Regions from separate parts of the Homo sapiens genome. Here regions 1, 2, 4, 5 and 6 are each linked to region 3. Evidence: promoter capture Hi-C in human tissues and cell types (Jung and others, 2019). All regions are on one chromosome and are shown on one strand. The core of a region is centred on a gene start or on the middle of the fragment in contact, and the rest is flanking DNA. Distances in the headings are between cores, read along the strand shown.

Evidence for each region. The method cuts DNA at HindIII sites, captures the fragments that hold promoters and counts their contacts. A contact is called where the count stands out against the background at its distance.
Region 1: a fragment that was not itself captured here is called in contact with the fragment with the promoter of ARL2 in region 3 in 1 of the 25 tissues and cell types used here (hippocampus).
Region 2: a contact is called between the fragment with the promoter of SCYL1 here and the fragment with the promoter of ARL2 in region 3, in 1 of the 25 tissues and cell types used here (dorsolateral prefrontal cortex).
Region 4: a contact is called between the fragment with the promoter of DPF2 here and the fragment with the promoter of ARL2 in region 3, in 1 of the 25 tissues and cell types used here (lymphoblastoid cells).
Region 5: a contact is called between the fragment with the promoter of TIGD3 here and the fragment with the promoter of ARL2 in region 3, in 3 of the 25 tissues and cell types used here (dorsolateral prefrontal cortex, lymphoblastoid cells and spleen).
Region 6: a contact is called between the fragment with the promoter of CDC42EP2 here and the fragment with the promoter of ARL2 in region 3, in 1 of the 25 tissues and cell types used here (liver).

Annotation. Positions count from the first base shown.
Region 1 is chr11:65,491,752-65,494,451 of GRCh38, reverse strand. No RefSeq gene overlaps it. Among named protein-coding and RNA genes, the nearest start is that of LINC02736, 5.0 kb to the right of the region's middle. RefSeq lists a cis regulatory region at 319-561, enhancers at 300-594, 840-969, 461-972, 973-1,483, 2,320-2,614 and silencers at 300-594, 2,289-2,700. The HindIII fragment of the contact is 5,007 bases long and covers 1-2,700 here.
Region 2 is chr11:65,523,633-65,526,332 of GRCh38, reverse strand. SCYL1 (SCY1 like pseudokinase 1) reads right to left here and starts at 1,250. Exons shown (of 18, transcript NM_020680.4): 1 at 1,069-1,250; 2 at 619-759; 3 at 290-412; 4 at 1-209. The coding sequence starts at 1,179. RefSeq lists a silencer at 903-1,402. The HindIII fragment of the contact is 17,278 bases long and covers 1-2,700 here.
Region 3 is chr11:65,012,634-65,015,500 of GRCh38, reverse strand. ARL2 (ARF like GTPase 2) reads right to left here and starts at 1,341. Exons shown (of 5, transcript NM_001667.4): 1 at 1,229-1,341. The coding sequence starts at 1,293. ARL2-SNX15 (ARL2-SNX15 readthrough (NMD candidate)) reads right to left here and starts at 1,341. Exons shown (of 11, transcript NR_037650.2): 1 at 1,229-1,341. RefSeq lists a silencer at 735-1,494. The HindIII fragment of the contact is 13,144 bases long and covers 1-2,867 here.
Region 4 is chr11:65,332,565-65,335,264 of GRCh38, reverse strand. DPF2 (double PHD fingers 2) reads right to left here and starts at 1,413. Exons shown (of 11, transcript NM_006268.5): 1 at 1,347-1,413. The coding sequence starts at 1,378. RefSeq lists a silencer at 972-1,061 and an enhancer at 1,112-1,161. The HindIII fragment of the contact is 14,713 bases long and covers 1-2,700 here.
Region 5 is chr11:65,353,415-65,356,114 of GRCh38, reverse strand. TIGD3 (tigger transposable element derived 3) reads right to left here and starts at 1,364. Exons shown (of 2, transcript NM_145719.3): 1 at 1,158-1,364; 2 at 1-322. The coding sequence starts at 306. DPF2 (double PHD fingers 2) reads right to left here. Exons shown (of 11, transcript NM_006268.5): 11 at 1,853-2,700. RefSeq lists silencers at 657-846, 907-1,076, 1,087-1,146, 1,167-1,486, 1,577-1,636. The HindIII fragment of the contact is 4,951 bases long and covers 1-2,700 here.
Region 6 is chr11:65,313,587-65,316,384 of GRCh38, reverse strand. CDC42EP2 (CDC42 effector protein 2) reads right to left here and starts at 1,519. Exons shown (of 2, transcript NM_006779.4): 1 at 1,431-1,519. It overlaps LOC105369344 (a long non-coding RNA gene), which reads left to right and starts at 1,696. Exons shown (of 3, transcript XR_007062727.1): 1 at 1,696-2,614. RefSeq lists silencers at 562-721, 892-1,021, 1,482-1,861. The HindIII fragment of the contact is 18,736 bases long and covers 1-2,798 here.

The DNA of each region.
Region 1 (2,700 bases), core at 181-2,680, 480 kb before region 3:
AGGCTGAGGCAGGCGGATCACCAGGTCAAGAGATCGAGACCACCCTGGCCAACATGGTGAAACCCCATCTCTACTAAAAATACAAAAATTAGCTGGGGTGTGGTGGAGGGCACCTGTAGTCCCAGCTACTCGGGAGACTGAGGCAAGAGAATCGCTTGAACCCGAGAGGCAGAGGTTGCAGTGAGCTGAGATGGTGCCACTGCACTCCAGCCTGGCAACAGAGCAAGACTGTCTGAAAAAAAAAGAAAAAGGAAAGATCTTAGGCCTCCTGGCTGTACCTTCGAGAAGGCGGGGTGCTGAAAAGGACTAAAAGGGCAAAAATTTTGCATCCAGCCTCCAAGCATACAGTCAGCAAGGCCCTACCTTAATCCTCCTGACTCAGGCCAGGCCGGAAACCTCCAGAGAATGCCAGAATCCACTCCACCCCTTCCCTGATTGGCAAGTCCAGTCAGGCTTAGTCAAGAGACAAGCTTCTGAGAGATCCGTCATCTACGGCCCTGGAGCCCAGAGGCCGCAGTGGCTGAGTCTTCATGGCACCTGGATTCCTCCCAGGCCTCCTTTGATTTTATCTAATCCTGTAATTTTTTCTTTAATTCTGCATTTCTAGAGCTCTCTAGAAATGCAGGTCAGAAATGAAGGGCAAAGACAGTCCCAAGAAAACAACTTTCTTGGTTTTTGTTTTTTTTTTTTTCCTTGAGACAGTTTTTTGCTCTTGTCACCCAGGCTAGAGTGCAGTGACGGGATCTCAGCTTACTGTAACCTCTGCCTTCCGGGTTCAGGTGATTCTCCTGCTTCAGCCTCCCAAGTAGCTGGGATTGCAAGTGCCTGCCACCATGCCCGGCTAGTTTTCATATTTTTAGTAGAGACAGGGTTTTACCATGTTGGCTAGGCTGGTCTGAAACTCCTGACCTTAAGTGATCCGCCTGTCTCTGCCTCCAAAAGTGCTGGGATTACAGGCATGAACCACCACACCCAGCCCAAACTTTCTTGTTTTCTAAAGATTTTAGGAATTTGCAGTTCCCAATCCCATCCCCTGGCTGCCCACCTTCCCAGAGCCGATTTCTGGAACAATGTGACCTTCCGTAGCTGCTGCACAAACTTAGGCTCCCTCACCTACTGTGACCGCCCCCACAGCAGGAAAAAACCTACAGAGATGATGCAGCTCAGAGCTCTATGATATGGAAGACAGAGCATTGTTTTCTAGGGGGTTTTGGACAGCTAATAATTTACCCTGTAGAACATGTAAAATTATCCCTTGAAACCCAGCAGACAGGCCTGTCACTTCACAGAGAGCTGAGGGCAATTCCAGCAAGAATGAGTTACAGAAACTAGAAGTGGCTGTGTCATTGACCTTCCCAAAATGATATGCGGAAGAGGCAGCTGGGGCCTCTTCCATCACAGCCCTGAATCACCAGGGCAGGAGGGTAGGGGAAACAGATTCTCTCTTCCTGAGACAAGAAAACATCTTCTAAATGTACCCACCTCTACTTCTAGCAAGCATTCCTTGTTAGATAGAATCCTCTTTCGGGGAGGGGAATAAAGGAGAAAGTGTCTTTTTTGTTGTTGTTGTTCTTTCTTAGGAGAAAGTGTCTTAAGAAAGCAATTCCCCACCCCCTGCCTGAGAGTTCCAGGCTCCTAGTTCCTTCCTTGGTCTATTTGCTGCGTAATGTACTTGGCCCTGGGCCCTGAAGCCTATTGGTGGATCCTCCCGAAAGGCCTGGCTGTGGCAGCCCAGCTGTAGCACTGTGGGCTGTAGGAGGACAGATTGACATCGAGGGGCACAACTGGGCTGTCCCCCATGCCTTCCTGGGGGCTGCGTCTGTAGAACCGTCTATCCACTCCATGTGCATCTTTATTTTCTGTAACGTGTATTGAGTGCTGTGCCTCACAACAGCCCTGTGGGGGAGGTGGTGTTGCTTTCCCCTTAGACGGATGAGGAAACTGAGGCAAAGAGCTGTCATTTGCCAGATCACTAGAGCCTGGCACACAGTAGAAGCTCCATGTGTGTCTACTGAGTAATGACTCAATGAATACATTGGAATAGTATCTTTTTTGGAATTTATAACACACACACACACACACACACACACAACCAGAATACTGAAAAGCTCCCACAGGAACAGATCATTCCACAGGAACAGATCATTCCACAGGAACAGAACGGATTTAGACTTGACGTAAATTCGAATGCCCATCAGGATGGAGTGGAATGGGACTGAGCTAGCTGTACTGCGTGGGAAACTGGGAACTGCTTTGCTCTGGAGGTCTGTTCAGAACTTCTGAACCAACTGCCATCCACAGAGACAGGGGAGAAAACCCAGAGGCCACCTGTGGTTTCCATGCAGCTCTGATGGAGCATTCACCCCTCTACCTCCTACCCGCCCCCTGCCCAGTGCAGGGTAGTGAGCCCGGCTCAGCCCTTGCTGTCCTTGCCCCATGATGAGTCACCGCGGGAGACGCCTGCTGAGTGAACCTTCCCAAGTGGCCTGAAGGAACAATGAAGCTCTCAGGGAGTCGCAGCCGCGTTCTTGTGTCCCTGATCTTTTCAGTCATGCTTCAGGTCCCTGGCAGATGTTTGTATTGGCCTGGCACACCCAGCATGAAGCTGATTAAACATCCTCCATGAGCATGCTCACACACACACACACACACACACACGTATATTCATTCTTCCTCATGCAAGTGTGGCCCACATCCCAC
Region 2 (2,700 bases), core at 1-2,500, 510 kb before region 3:
CTGCCACTGCTGTCAGCCAACTCCGGGGGGTCATACTGCTCAAGCTCGGGGATCCCCTTGCGGGGAGGTCCCCCACCGTTGCCCTGGGCCGAATACATGTAGTCCAGGCCCCCAAGCTTCCACTCGCCAGCTCGGTCCACGAACACGGCGGCCATGCAGACATTGTTGTGGATGAGGCTGCAGTCGTTGACCAGGAAGCTGAGGGCTTTCTGGGGGCAAAAGGAGCCATCACGCCCCAGCACCTGCAACCCCCCATCCCTGCTCTCATCACCACTGCCCCCCACCTCACCACGATCTGGTGTAGCCCCCAGGAGATCTCCAGCTCCTTCAGGCCACCAGCCTCCACTCTCGCCTTGAGGTATATTCCCAACGGGGTCACAGCCTCTGTCACGACGTGGAGGCATTTTTCTGTCTGGGGAAGGGGACACAGGGTTATCAAGGGCGGAGGGGCAGAGAGGAAGGAGAGATAAGCGACTTGAAGTTGGGAGAGATGGGGAAGAGGAAACCAAATCTGGGGGTGCTGGGGCACATAGGGTGGAAACAGGGCAGGAGGGGAGACAGGAGTGGGTAACCAGGACATCGTGAGGGGCAGAGACGGGCAGGCAAGGCAGCAGGTACCTCCAGTCCATCGATGTAAGCCAGGATGTTGGGGTGCCGTAGAGTTTTGAAGCGCTTGAAGGCAGCTTTGGCCACCTGGGTCTGCTCTTCCGCGCCAGGCTTCACATCATAGACGAAGATGGACACGGGGCTGCCTGTGGCCTAGGGGAGGGCAGCGGGGCCTGAGATGGTCCCAGAGCTGTTGTGTGGCCGGAAGACAAGGGCCCGCAGCCAGGTCTCTCCCCAGGTCAGCCTTAGGGACACTTCGCCGGGCCCACGTGACCCCGGCCCTGTCCGCCTGTCGGTCCCTCGGTCCCTCCGCCCGCCACGTAGGCACTGCCCGCCCCCTCCCCGGCCTGCTACCCCTTGGTTCCGCCGCCACGTCAGGCCGGGCGCAACGCGACGGGGTCGGCGGCGCGGAATAGGCAAGGCCCAGGTCGACCGCGGCCTACGGAGCTCGGCCGCACTCACCTTCTTGCGGCCGCGGTGCAGGGCCCAGGGCCCGGGCAGGCCGCCCTCTGGGGGCTCCGGGATGAGCTCGAACGGAAAGTCCCGGACCGGGTCCCGGGCAAAGAACCACATCGTCCCCACCGCCGCCGCGGGTTCGGGCGCCTTAGCTCCGGGTCCTCCGGCCGCCCGAGCCGGGGCGGGGCGGAGAGGGGGCGGGGCCTGCGTCAGACGGGGGCGGGGCCCGGGGGCCAGGGCGGGGCCTACGTCGGGGCGGAGCAGGACGTGAATTGGGGCGGGGTGGGGCAGAACCTGAGTTGGGGCGGGAAGGGGCGGGGACAAGGGAGGGGCGGGAGAGGGGCGGGGATGGGGGGGCTAGGGAGGGGCGGGGATGGGGGGGCTAGGGAGGGGCGGGGATGGGGGGGCTAGGGAGGGGCGGGGCAGTCCGGGGCGGCGGGCGGTACTAAGATCAGTACTCCGCCGCCGGGTAAGTCACTTAAAACCCTCCAAGCCTGTGAGCCCTTTTATCTAAAGAGGCCTAAATCCTAAAGGATAATAGAGCCTGCCTTCTAGCGTACTGTAAGGATGAGAGCTTAAGAAGGGACAGAGGGATGGGGAAACCGAGGCAAAAAGGGGGAGAGGTAGAAAGACTGACAGGCATGAGAGGGTGCAGTGAGGAGTGAGGCAGAGACCCAGAGAGGGAGACTGGCCCCACGCCAGACACTCTCTCCCACCAGCAAGTGGGTGCCTCCAGGCTCCGGGGAGGAGTCGGTCCTGGTGAAGTGACCATGAGAGAAGCACGAGGAGACGCCCCAGAGAAAGAGCGTGGGTGAGAGGCAGAGAGTGAATCCAAGGTTCCAAGGAGGTCCAGAACCCCGGGGCAGGGGCGGGCACCCAGGGAATGGAGGAAGGAGAGACTGAGGAGGGAAGAAGAAGTGACCCCAGGAAAGGAGGGAGGGAGAAGGAGCAACTGGGCAGGTCTGGAAGAGGCCAAAGGGCTGGGAGGGGACCCTGCTCTCCTGGGCTCAGCTGCCCGGCTCTCAAGCCAACGGATTGCATCTCTCAGTGCCTGTGTAGACAGCCATGGAGTGGTGTTAGCTCAATCAGCACATCACACTGGTGGGGATCCAGCCCCTGAGCTGTGTAGGAGGGGCTGGACAGGCAGTGGTTCTTCTGCTGGTAGGGTCTCAGGACCCAGGCTTGGGGACAGTGCCTCAACCACAGCTATGGAGCACTGGTGAGATTCTGGGACTGGTTATGAAAAGTCTGGTTGGGATGCCTTTGGGAGATAACTCAAGGGCAGAGATGCCACAGTGAGACGGTGCTGGGTTTCAATCACGGTTCAGCCCCTCATTGGATGTGAGAACTCACACAGTTCCCTTTGGGTGCGTTAGGTCCCCCATCTATAAACTGGGGTGAGGGCCAGGCACAGTGGTTCACGCTTGTAATCTCAGCACTTTGGGAGGCCGAGGCTGGAGGATCACCTGAGGTCAGGAGTTCCAGGTCAGCCTGACCAACATGTTTGAAGGGGGCCTGCCCCTCCACACCTGTGGGTATTTCTCGTCAGGTGGAGACAAGAGACTGAGAAAAGAAATAAGACACAAAGTATAGAGAAAGAACAGTGGGCCCAGGGGACCGGCACACTCAGTATACGAG
Region 3 (2,867 bases), core at 92-2,591:
AGTGTCTAGCACATATTAGGCACTCAATATTTATCAAATGAGTGAACTGTATGCTTTTCTTAGAGCTCTTTAAAGCAGACATGCGGCCCGGCGCAGTGGCTCACGCCCATAATCCCAACAGTTTGGGAGGCCAAGGCGGGTGGATCACTTGAGGTCAGGAATTCGAGAACAGCCTGACCAACAAGGTGAAACCCCGTCTCTACTAACAATATTTAAAAAAATAGCCGGGCGTGGTGGCGGGCACCTGTAATCCCAGCTACTTGGGAGGCTGAGGCAGGAGAATTGCTTGAACTCGGGGGGCGGAGGTTGCAGCGAGCTGAGATTGTGCCACTGCACTCCAGCCTGGGCAACAAGAGCGAAACTCCGTCTCAAACAAAACAAAATAAAACAGACATGGGCCGGACTCCGTGGCTCATGCCTATATTCCCAGAGTTTTGGGAGGCTGAGGCAGGAGGATCACTTAAGCCTAGAAGCTGGAGGCTGCGGTGAGCCTTGATTGTGCCACTGCACTCCAGCCAGGGCAACAGAGCAAGACCCTGTCTCAAAAAACAAAACAGTCATGATGTGATTATTAAGTTATATGTGCACGTAAGCGTCTTATCTCCCCAGCCATTCCCCCGCGGAGCCTGGCACAGAGCTGGGGGAACAGGTGCGGGCGCCTAACTGGACTCAGAAGGCGCACAGGGCGCACGGGACACTCGGGCCCACACACACACATCCTCAGCCGCAGGGACAACCACGGGCCGCGTAACACCAAAGAGACGGACTGTTGGATCCACGCTCGAAAGGATCCGCGGAGCCCACACGCGCCACCCGCCACCCCGCACGCCCCCGGGATTCGGAGCTCGAGGGCGGGGCCGGGGCCTGGAACCCTCGGGCCCGGGGGAGGAGATCAGAGCCGGGAGGGCAGCGGCCCCACGCTTGGGCCAGGCCGCCGGGTGGTGGCGTCCGAGTTATCTCCGGGACCCACCACCCCTGACACTCGGGCCGCCTAGCCCCGCCGCTGCGCCTGCAGGACCGCTTCTGCGGCCCTCGGAGCTGGCCCCTGCCCCAGTCCTGGGGTGCGGCTCCTCCCGGCCCGACGGGGCGATTGATGGGGCCCGCGTGGTGACGCCAGGGGCAGTTGGGACGCGCCGGCCGCCGCGTTCCGCTCCCGACAGGGGGCGCCCGGCACCGCCTGCCCGGCTGGACCCCGCCACCCTCGCGGTTCCGGCGTCCGGTAGGATACAGCATGAGCAGTCGCAGCTCCCGCTCTTTCTGCTTCATCTTCTTCAGAATGGTCAGGAGCCCCATGGTCCCCGGAGCCCCCTCCCGGCCGCCGTTTCTTCCCAGTCCCGGGACCCCGCTCCCGGTTCCTGTTGGCTATCACGCTCGCCGACGGCATAGTCGATTGGCCGGACGCTCGTTTGGTCCCGCCCTTGCCGCACGTGACCGCGAGGTCGCCCGCGCAGCTGCTGCGAGGGTCCCTCTAGCGGCGCGGGGGGTTTCTGTGCTGCCGCCCGCCCTGACGCTGCGCCTCCCGAGGGCTGAGGCTGGGGGAGCAAGGGCGACTCCCCCACCCTTTCCCCTGCCGGACTGGGGCTCTTGGCCGGAGCGGAAACCTTGAAGTTCCTGAGTTGCATCTTGGCTGCGTCTGACCTGAGAGTCAGAACCCAGGGCCCCCAGGTACGGACGAACTCATCCTGGGGCCAGTGTAGGCCCCCGTTCCCAGCAACACAGTCCAAATCCTGCTCATCTGGGCCCTCGGCATCATCCTCTGACAGAGCGGAAAGTTGGGCCTCCCCCTACCCGGCTCCGGTGGCTCTCAGTTCAGGGCGGCGGTGCCCCCTGGAGGCCGTTCGGAAACATGCGGGGCGTCCCTGGGTTCCAATGACGGAATTGCAGTCCCGCCCCAAAGGCTGCCCCCACCCAGAGGCCCAGCGTTTCCCTGTTCAGAAGCACAGTTCCTACTTTTGCAGATGGAAAAACTGAGGCCCAGATGGTGCTTAGCACAGTGGCTGGCATGTAGTAGGTGCTCAATAAATATTTGTTGTTGAATGAATGGCTTTGTCCAAGAGTTTCATTCTTTACTTTAGCGCTCAAGAAGTCCAGAAGAAGTGAGGAAATAGGTCAAGGACCAAGCCCTTTTGTAAACTCAGGAGACAGCCTTATTGCTGCAGGTAAGTGTGGATAGGCAGCACGGAAGAGCCTCTCTCATGCTTGGGAAAGAGCTGTCAGCACCAGCTGAGGACAATAGCTAACTCCTGTGTAACTGTTTGCAACGCACTTCACGTGTTCAGCTTCATCCTCCCTGCAACCCTGAGAGGTTTATATTCTTTTCGTAGCTATGATAATGGAATCCAGAGTGTTTAAGGAGCATGGGTGAGATTCAAACTCAGGTCTAGTAAATGGTAAAGCACAATGTCTTCATGCCTCCATGAAGTTTGCCTAGAGAGAGGTCTGGAAGAAGCTGGAGCTTCCCATCTTGCAGAAAGGGGCTTGTGGTCAGAGGAGGGCTGAACAGATAGGCTGCCTGAGTGGGACCCTTCGGTCAGCACCATTTACCCTCCATCACACACACACAAGGAAGAAAGTGAGCATATCGCCTACCCAGAGGCTTCGAAATGCAGCTAAGATCAAAATGGGAAATGCTGGCCGGGCGCCATGGCTCACGCCTGTAAACCCAGCACTTTGGGAGGCCGAGGCAGGTGGATCACGAGGTCAGGAGTTCAAGACCAGCCTGGCCAACATGGTGAAACCCCGTCTCTACTAAGAATACAAAAAATTAGCTGGGCGTGGTGGCGGCACCTGTAATCCCAGCTATTCGGGAGGCTGAGGCAGAGAATTGCTTGAACCCAGGAGACGGAGGTTGCAGTGAGCCGAGATTG
Region 4 (2,700 bases), core at 164-2,663, 320 kb before region 3:
GGAAGGATAACTGGATAAATGGTAGATCAACAGTGTCATTTCTAAATTGAGAAAAATGTCAGCCTGAAGAAAGAGCTGGGGAAACTGGAGTGGGCAGATCAGAGAGAAAGACAATAGCGTTGGGAGGAGGGGTGGCTGAAAGAGACAGCAGGATAGAGCAGAAAGCAACTTAAAAAAAAAAAAAACAAACCACAAGAGGAGGAAAGGCACTTAGCTTAATGGAAGTGGGAAAGCATTCTCAAAGAAAAGGCTTCAGGCAGGAGGGAGAAGCAACTTACTCTTTAAAAAGGCTCTTAGGAAGAGTGGGGCTCAGGCCACGACAAAGACAGATGAGAAGCTGTGAGTCCCTTAGAAGAGTTACCGAACCTTTACCTCGTCATCCAGTCAAAATGCAAAAACCCTGACTGGACAGCTAGACACCACTCAATTTTCCCACCCTTGCACCAAGCCCAACATACCCATTAAAAGAAGCTCTATTCGCCCACCATGCATTAACCCAATCTAAAACTCATTCTGATTCTTCTGTAGGAATAAATCAAGTCCCAAAGCATCTTTAACTCACAGGAAGCAGTTCATAGGCCAGCGTCCATGGCCCCAACAGCTATTAACTTTAACTTTGCTTGAAATCTGACCAGCACAATGGTATCGTATAATAGGAAGAATGCCCACCTAGATGCCCCTTTAGGCTAAGCTGTCCTGAACGGCTTCGGTCCAGTTGCAGGTTTTTGATGGCTGCTACTGGACGGGGCCAAGGCCCACTCCCCTGAAGTTCCTTCCCTTCTGGATCCGCTCCTCGATAAATTCTTCCCAAGAATATTTGTAGTCTTAGGTACCTGCCACCCAAGATCCTCCCAAACATCACGGGGCTGCCTGGAACTGAAACAGCCAGCCCCGCAGTGCACTCCGCAGGGGCCGCCGAGCCTGTTGCTGCAGCGAACGGGACGGGACGGGGCGGGGTGGGCGGCGGGCCAGCCGTAGGGCCGCCCGGGCCTCGGCCCCGCTCCTCCGGACTGAGGCGTCTCGGGAGAGGACCGGGACGGTGAGTCTCGCGTGCAGGCAGGGCGCCATGCTCTGGAAACCGTCAGCCCCGAGGAACGCTGAGGCCACACAGCCCCGCAGGGATGCCGCCCGTCGGGGCTCCAGTGTGCCCCCACCAGGGCCTCCACAAGTTTCCAAAGAAGCGCAACGTCTTCTCCGGAGTCTCCTGTTGCCCTCCCCACCAGGAGTCGCAACATGGCTTTCCCGGGGATGTCCCTCTCTCCGCCTAGTCCCTTCCCCCACCGCCCCCTACTCCCAGGCCCTTTACAAAACCTGCCGCCCTAGGAGAGAAAGAAACGACCACTCACAGCTTCACTACATTCTCCACCACAGCCGCCATCTTCCCTGTTCCTCTGCCTCGGGCCGAGAAGCCCCACAGTCCGCAGCGCGCAGGCGCCGGGACCGCACCGGGGTACCAGGTTCCTTGCCCTCTGCGCAGGCGCCGTCCGGGCGCGCGCACTAGAGCGAGCACTGAAGAAAGAGCTTTACGCCTGTTCGCGGGGGCCGGGTAGGAAATGCGTGGACCCCACGGGAGCCCGACGCGCAGGCGCAACCGGAGATTGGCATGCATCCCGGAGCTCCGGTTCGAGGCTTGCCTCTAATATTTAGAGGAGCAGGAGCCGGGGCCGGGCGCGGTGGCTCACGCCTGTAATCCCAGCACTTTGGGAGGCCGAGGCGGGCGGATCACGAGGTCAGGACATGGAGACCATCCTGGCTAACACGGTGAAACCCCGTCTCTACTAAAAATACAAAAAATTAGCCGGGTGTGGTGGCGAGCGCCTGTAGTCCCAGCTACTCGGGAGGCTGAGGCAGGAGAATGGCGTGAACCCGGGAGGCGGAGTTTGCAGTGAGCCGAGATCGCGCCACTGCACTCCAGCCTGGGCGACAGAGCGAGACTCCTTCTCAATAAATAAATAAATAAATAAAGGAAAAAAAGAAAAAGAAAAAAGATTAGCTGGGCATGGTGGTGCATGCCTGTAATCCCAGCTACTAGGGAGGCTGAGGTGGGAGGATCACTTGAGCCCAGGAGTTTGAGGCTCCAGTGAGCCACTGGAGCCACATCACTGCACTCCAGCCTGGGCAACAGAGCGAGGCTCCATCTCAAGAAAAAAAAAAAAAAAAAGGAAAAAAAATATATATACATATATATATACACATATATATATACACATATATACATATATATATATACACATATATATACATATGTATATATATACATATGTATATATATATATATATATATAAATATAATCACTAAAGCTGAAAATACACATACCCTATGACCCAGCAAAGTCCACTCCTGGATATACACACAAGAAAGCTGTACAAGAAGCTGAGTGCAATGCCTCATGCCTGTAATCCCAGCTACTTGAGAGGGTGAGGTGGGAGAATCACTTGAGCCCAGGGGTTCAAGACCAGCCTGGGCAACATAGCAAGATCCTGTCTCTTAAAAAAAAAAAACAAAAAAAAACAGGCCAGGAGCATTGGTTCACGCTTGTAATACCAGCACTTTGGGAGGCCACGGTGGGCGGATCACGAGGTCAGGAGATCGAGACCGTCCTGGCTAACATGGTGAAACCCCATCTCTACTAAAAATACAAAAACAAAATTAGCCGGGCATGGTGGCGGACGCCTGTAATCCCAGCTACTGGAGAGGCT
Region 5 (2,700 bases), core at 115-2,614, 340 kb before region 3:
CAGCATGGGCCCCGTCACGTCCCAGGCCTTGGCCCGGGCAATGTGGTACCAGCAGAGCAGAGCCTCGTCGATCCCGCTGTACTTGGACTCCCGCTTGCGCTTGCGCTCTCGGTTGGCTGTGCCGCTGCACCAGTCCGCCAGCAGCTTCTCCTTATTCTTGCAGATGCGCGAGATCTGGGGCTGGGAAACCTGGAAGCGCCGGGCCACCTCCGACTGGGACATCTTGGACTCATCCAGGAGTTCCAGCACCTGGATCTTCTCGGCCAGGGACAGGGCGTGAAGCTTCTTCTTGCTGCTCAGCTCCATGGCCTCTCCGGGGCACCTGTGCGGGGAGGAAAGATTGAGCGGGTAGAGTAATCTGAGGCCGGAAGAGCTAGGAAAGGAGCGCAGGAGGGAAAAGAGATTAGATGAGGACTTGCGCAGGCACCGGGTGAGACTGGACCCGCTGAAAGAGGAAGTGGCTAGGCCGAGTGGAAGCCGGCTGGCCCCGTCCCCAGGATGCCAGGGCAGAGCTGGGGAGGGGGCGTCTCTCCACTCAGAAGGACAGGGGAGTCTGGGCTGGGGTCTGGCCTCACTCGGGAAGAAGGATGAAAAGTGCAGGGGACAGCTGCAGAGATAACAAAGGCATACGGACGGGGGAGGGCCTGGGACTGGGGCCGAGGGGGCAGGTGTGGGGCTACGGGGCTGCGGGGGAGGAGCCCCCGGGAGGGAGTGGGAGGCGGCTTGGGCTGGATTCAGATGACGCCGCTGGGGGGTGGGAGGTGGGTGGATGCACACAGAGTTGAGGTGACAGGTGTACAGACGACAAAGGGGACAGAGGGTGTCTGAAGGAGCGAGGCTAATTTGGTGCCGGGTCCTGAGAGGGAGGCTAGGCGACGGTCAGTCCTGAGGGGAGCGAGAGGGCAGGGCCGAGGGCGCAGGTGCACGAGCGACAAAGGGCGGGAGGCCTGAGGAGGCTGCGGGCAGCGGAGGGGCGGGGTGTCCCCGCGGGGAGGGTGGTGGCCTGGGAGGGTCCCAGGGCGCGGGAACGAACGCCCGGACCCAGGCAGGCCGGCAGCCGGACTCCGTGCCCTGGCCGGTCACTCCCCCTCGACCCGGAGTATGTCGGCGGGGCGGCCCCAGGCGCCCGCCCGCCCGGCCTCCCGCTCCGCACCCACCTCAGGCGCTGGTCCCGCGGCTCCAGCCCCTGCCCCCAGCCCGGCTCCCGAGCCCCTGTCCGGGCGGCGACAGCAGAACAGGGGAGGGATGGGCGCCACGACCCCGAGGGCAGAGCGGACCGAGGGCCTGCGCGGACGGCGGGCGGGCGGGCGCGCGCACAGCAGAGTCCCGTGCGCGCCGCCCGCGCCGGGCTCTCTCCCGGCTGCGAAGTCCGCGGTGCGGCCCCTCTGCACCCACCCGCCGCAGCCCCGCCCCGGCCCAAGCAGATTGGTCCTCAGTGGCGCCCCGTCCCTCCCCCGGCTAAGTTTCATTGGACGTTGCGGAAGTGGCGGTTCGTCGAGCCCCTCTGGGGGCGGGGCTTCTAGCGCGGAGGGGCGGGAGGCGGAGCCAGGAACCAGCAGGACTCCCCTGGGCGCCTCCAGCAGCCGCCGACCCCGAGGGCCCGACGAGCCCTGTAGGTGGTGTGGTGACCGCCGAGCTGACTTGGCGTCCCAAAGCCTCCCTGGCCGTGACCCTAGACCGCATCGGCTTCTTCGTCTACCAAGCAGGGCTAACAGCCCTCACGGAATTGTTTTGGGAAAACGATGAAAGGAGAAAATGGATGCAAGCTTTAAGCCACACAAAAGCTGGTTACCATGGACAGCGCTGGCTCGAGTCTGTCGGCCACGGAAACACTGCATGCTTGGGCCAGTAATGATTTAGGACGAGTATTTTATTAGATTTGGTACTTTACAAGATTCAAGTTCTTAAACTCAAGATCTGGCATCGTTCCCTTCCCTGCTAACCTTCAGTCCCGAATTAAACGCAGACGTCTTGACCCGCAGCCCAGCTGCTCTCCAGCCTCGCTGCTCCCTCCGCTCACAGCTCCGCATCCTCTGCCTTCCTCACAGGCTTCCGTCCGCACCCCCGTCCTACCGGCTGACACTGTCCAACTCTCCAAGACCCATCTCAAATCCTACCTCCCGCAAACCCTTCCTAAATTTCCTCACCTAGGCCTGCTACAGCGTTCTTATTTTCCACATTTCTTTTCTGGCTCTCGGACTACTCAGCTGCCAAAGCGCATCCATTGCTGTACTCCCTCTCTGCCTGGCCTACTTCAGTGGAAAAGCATGAGGACGGGCTGCGCTCTGCTCCTCACACAATCCCCAGCCCAGAGCACCCTGCTTATTTATTGAACATAACAGTGCAGGCCGGCCTAGGCTTCCCATAGGCAAGGATGACTTTCAGAATGTTCTAGAAAAAAGGATACTTCAGGGGGCCCATAACTGCTTGATTCAAATCTTTCCTTTAAAAACATAAAAACAACAGTTGGACTTCTAAAACACACACTGAAGACATACGCGCTGCCACGTAAGCTCTCCACATGTTCACTTTGCCTTCAGGGAAACTGTGTGCACATCAACGTGCCCTGGGAAAGGCTGCAGGGCTGCACTGCGGGCAGTTCAGATCCTAGAGCACTTGCTCTGGCCTGGGAGCGCTGCAGGCAACTGAAGCCACACAGACCCTGCTCCTGCAAGAACTTTTGTGTGTGTCCCATGGTGA
Region 6 (2,798 bases), core at 270-2,769, 300 kb before region 3:
ATGAGGTCTCCATCAGGACAGGGCTGTGGGGAGCTGGGAGGGGAGCTCCCTGCAGCAGTCGGGGAGCAGATAGGAGCATCCTAGCTCTCTGTGATTGCCCTGGACAGGAGCCCTGGACCTCCCAATGAGAAAATGACTTCCGGCAGGCAGGGATCCTCCTATCATGAAGAATATTAGGCCACCTCACACCCCCTCTTCTCCTAAATCAGGAGACTGTCCTTAAATCCAGCTCCACCTGGGACTTCCTCAGTAACCTTCAGCAAGACGCCTCTCCTCTCTGGGTCTCACCTTTCCCATCTATAAAATGGGCTGACAACGAAGCCACCACTAAAGGGCCACTGGAGATCCCACTGCAATATTGCAGGTGAGAGCGCCAATGTACAATAGCGGGGTTCAGCGGGTCACTGTAGGTTTTATCATTCATTCAGCAAATATCTACAAGGCCTTCCTTCCTCAAGCACTTCGATTCTCCGGGGCCAGTGCTTTGAACAATAGCAAAAACGAAGGGCTCCTGACCCCAGGCGTCCACCTCCTCCCGCCCTCCTAGACCTCGAGGATGCAGAGACCCTCTAGCGGCCGCTGGGTCTCCCGGGGTCCCGGTGCCTCCGGAGAGGTGCCCGGCTCCGCGGCCGCCAGGTGGCGCGCGTGCTCCCTTGATCGCCTCGTGTCCCGGAGGACTCCGAGAGCGCACCGGGGTCTCCAGCGCCCCTCCCCCGGGCTCCAGGCAGGCGGTCCCCAAGGAGCTGCGCGTTCAAGTACCAGATGGGGATTACCTGCGAGATCTTTTTGCTTCGGGGTTTCTGGTCCCACAATCGGGGAAAAAGGGGGCGATTGGGGACCCTGCCCTAGTCTCCAAGCTCTGGGAGGAGCCTCCCCCCTGTGCTTTCCGGCCTGGGCGATGTCCTAGTGTCCGCTCGGCACAGGGCCAGAGCTCGGGCGTGCGGGCCCCCGCCCCTCCCACGGGTCCGGCTCCTTAGCTCCGGCTCGGGTTCCTGCGCCGACCCCTCCCCACTCCTACCCGGGCGGAGCCCAGCCCAGCCCGGATCCGTTTCAGGACATTCGCGGCCGCAGCTAAAGATAGGAGAACAACTCACTATCGGCTAAAAATACGGCCCCCAGCCCCGGTGGGGATGCTGGGCGGCGGGGCACCCCTGGGTCTCGGGAGGGGGGCGGGGGCCCGGACACAAAATGGAGGGCAGAACGGGGAATTCGGGGTCGGGATGCGTTGCGCCCCCACGGACCGTGGCGGGCACGGGCGAGGCTGCGGGAACCCAGATGCGGGTGGGAAGCCCCATGGAGCCCTAGGAGCCCTCGAAAGGAACTGAGTGAGGTGAGAGGCAGAGCCAGGGCGCGAGCTGGGGCGGGGCGCCACAGAGATGGGCCTCTCGGGGGACCCCCGCGAAGCTGCGAAAATCCCAGCCCGAACTCACCGTGAGGCGCGCAGACGGCAGACCGGCGGACAGCAAGGTCTCAGGAGCTGGACAGCGCGGCGGCCGGACCCGACCGGCGGTGAACTTACAGAGTGCACCGCGGACCCCGCAGCCCCGCCCCGGCCCGCGGAGCCAATGCCGGGGCCGCGCCAGCCAAGCCCCTCCCCATCCCCGCCCAGGCCCCGCCCCACTCCGGGCACCGCCCGGGGCTCCCGGCGTGGGAGGTGCCGCTCCCGGGTCCAGCGGTCGCGCGCGCCCTGGAGTCCTGTCCTGGTTCTGGCGGCTGAGGGCCGGGTGGCGCAGGCGGCCTCCGGCTGTGCCCATGGGAACTAAAACCTTCGGTTCTAGAAGAGCCGGGGGAGAGGCTCCGGGAAGACCGAATTCTTCAGAAATCGCAGAGAGACCTTGGACCGGATCCTTCCCTGCAGGGCTGCGTCGGGGAAGCGCCGGCACAAGTATATTCAGCGACTTCCTTGGAAGCGCCTACGTTAGAATACTACAAACTTACAAGCTAGTTGATCAGTTTACCTCCCACTAGAAAAGACAGTATGGGAAGGCAGAGGCCGCGTGGCCTGGACCCCCGTCTTTGCTGTCAGGCTTCCAGAGTGAAGGTGGGGCTCATATTCAGACTAGTTCCTGGTCCATTCATTCTTTCAGTCAGTCAGTCAGTCATTCCTACAGGGCCAGAAACTTTTTTTTTTTTTGAGACAGAGTTTCGCTCTTGTTGCCCAGACTGCTCACCGCAACCTCCGTCTCCTGGGTTCAAGAGATTCTCCTGCCTCAGCCTCCCGAGTAGCTGGGATTACAGGCATGTGCCAGCACACCTGGCTAATTTTTGTATTCTTAGTAGAGACGGAGTTTCTCCATGTTGGCCAGGCTGGTCTCGAATTCCCGACCTCAAGTGATCTGCCCGCCTCGGCCTCCCGAAGTGCTGCAATTACAGGCGTGAGCCACCGCGCCCGGCCCAGAAACATGTTTTGAAGGGCAGGCACCGCACAGGGTGCTGGAGACAGACTGAAGGAAACTGCACCTCTCAGTGACTCAAGAGAGATTTGTTGAGTATCTACCAAGTGCCTAGCGCTGTTCTTGTCCCTGGGGATTCAGCCTCTGGATTGGGACCTGCAGCCCAGAGAAGGGAAATGGGGGAAATCCAAGTTCCCAGGTACATCATGATACCCTTCCAGGTGGGTAAGTGCTAAGAAGAGTGGGGCAGAGGAAGTGGTGGGTAGTGACGGGGTGGACAGACCTCACTTTCTAGAGGATGACAGCTATGCCAGCTCAGTGTGACCAGGATGGTTGGCTTCAATGCTGTCAGTGTGGGAAGGGCTTTTAGGGAGGCAGAGCCGGGAAGACCTCAGTGGGGGAGGC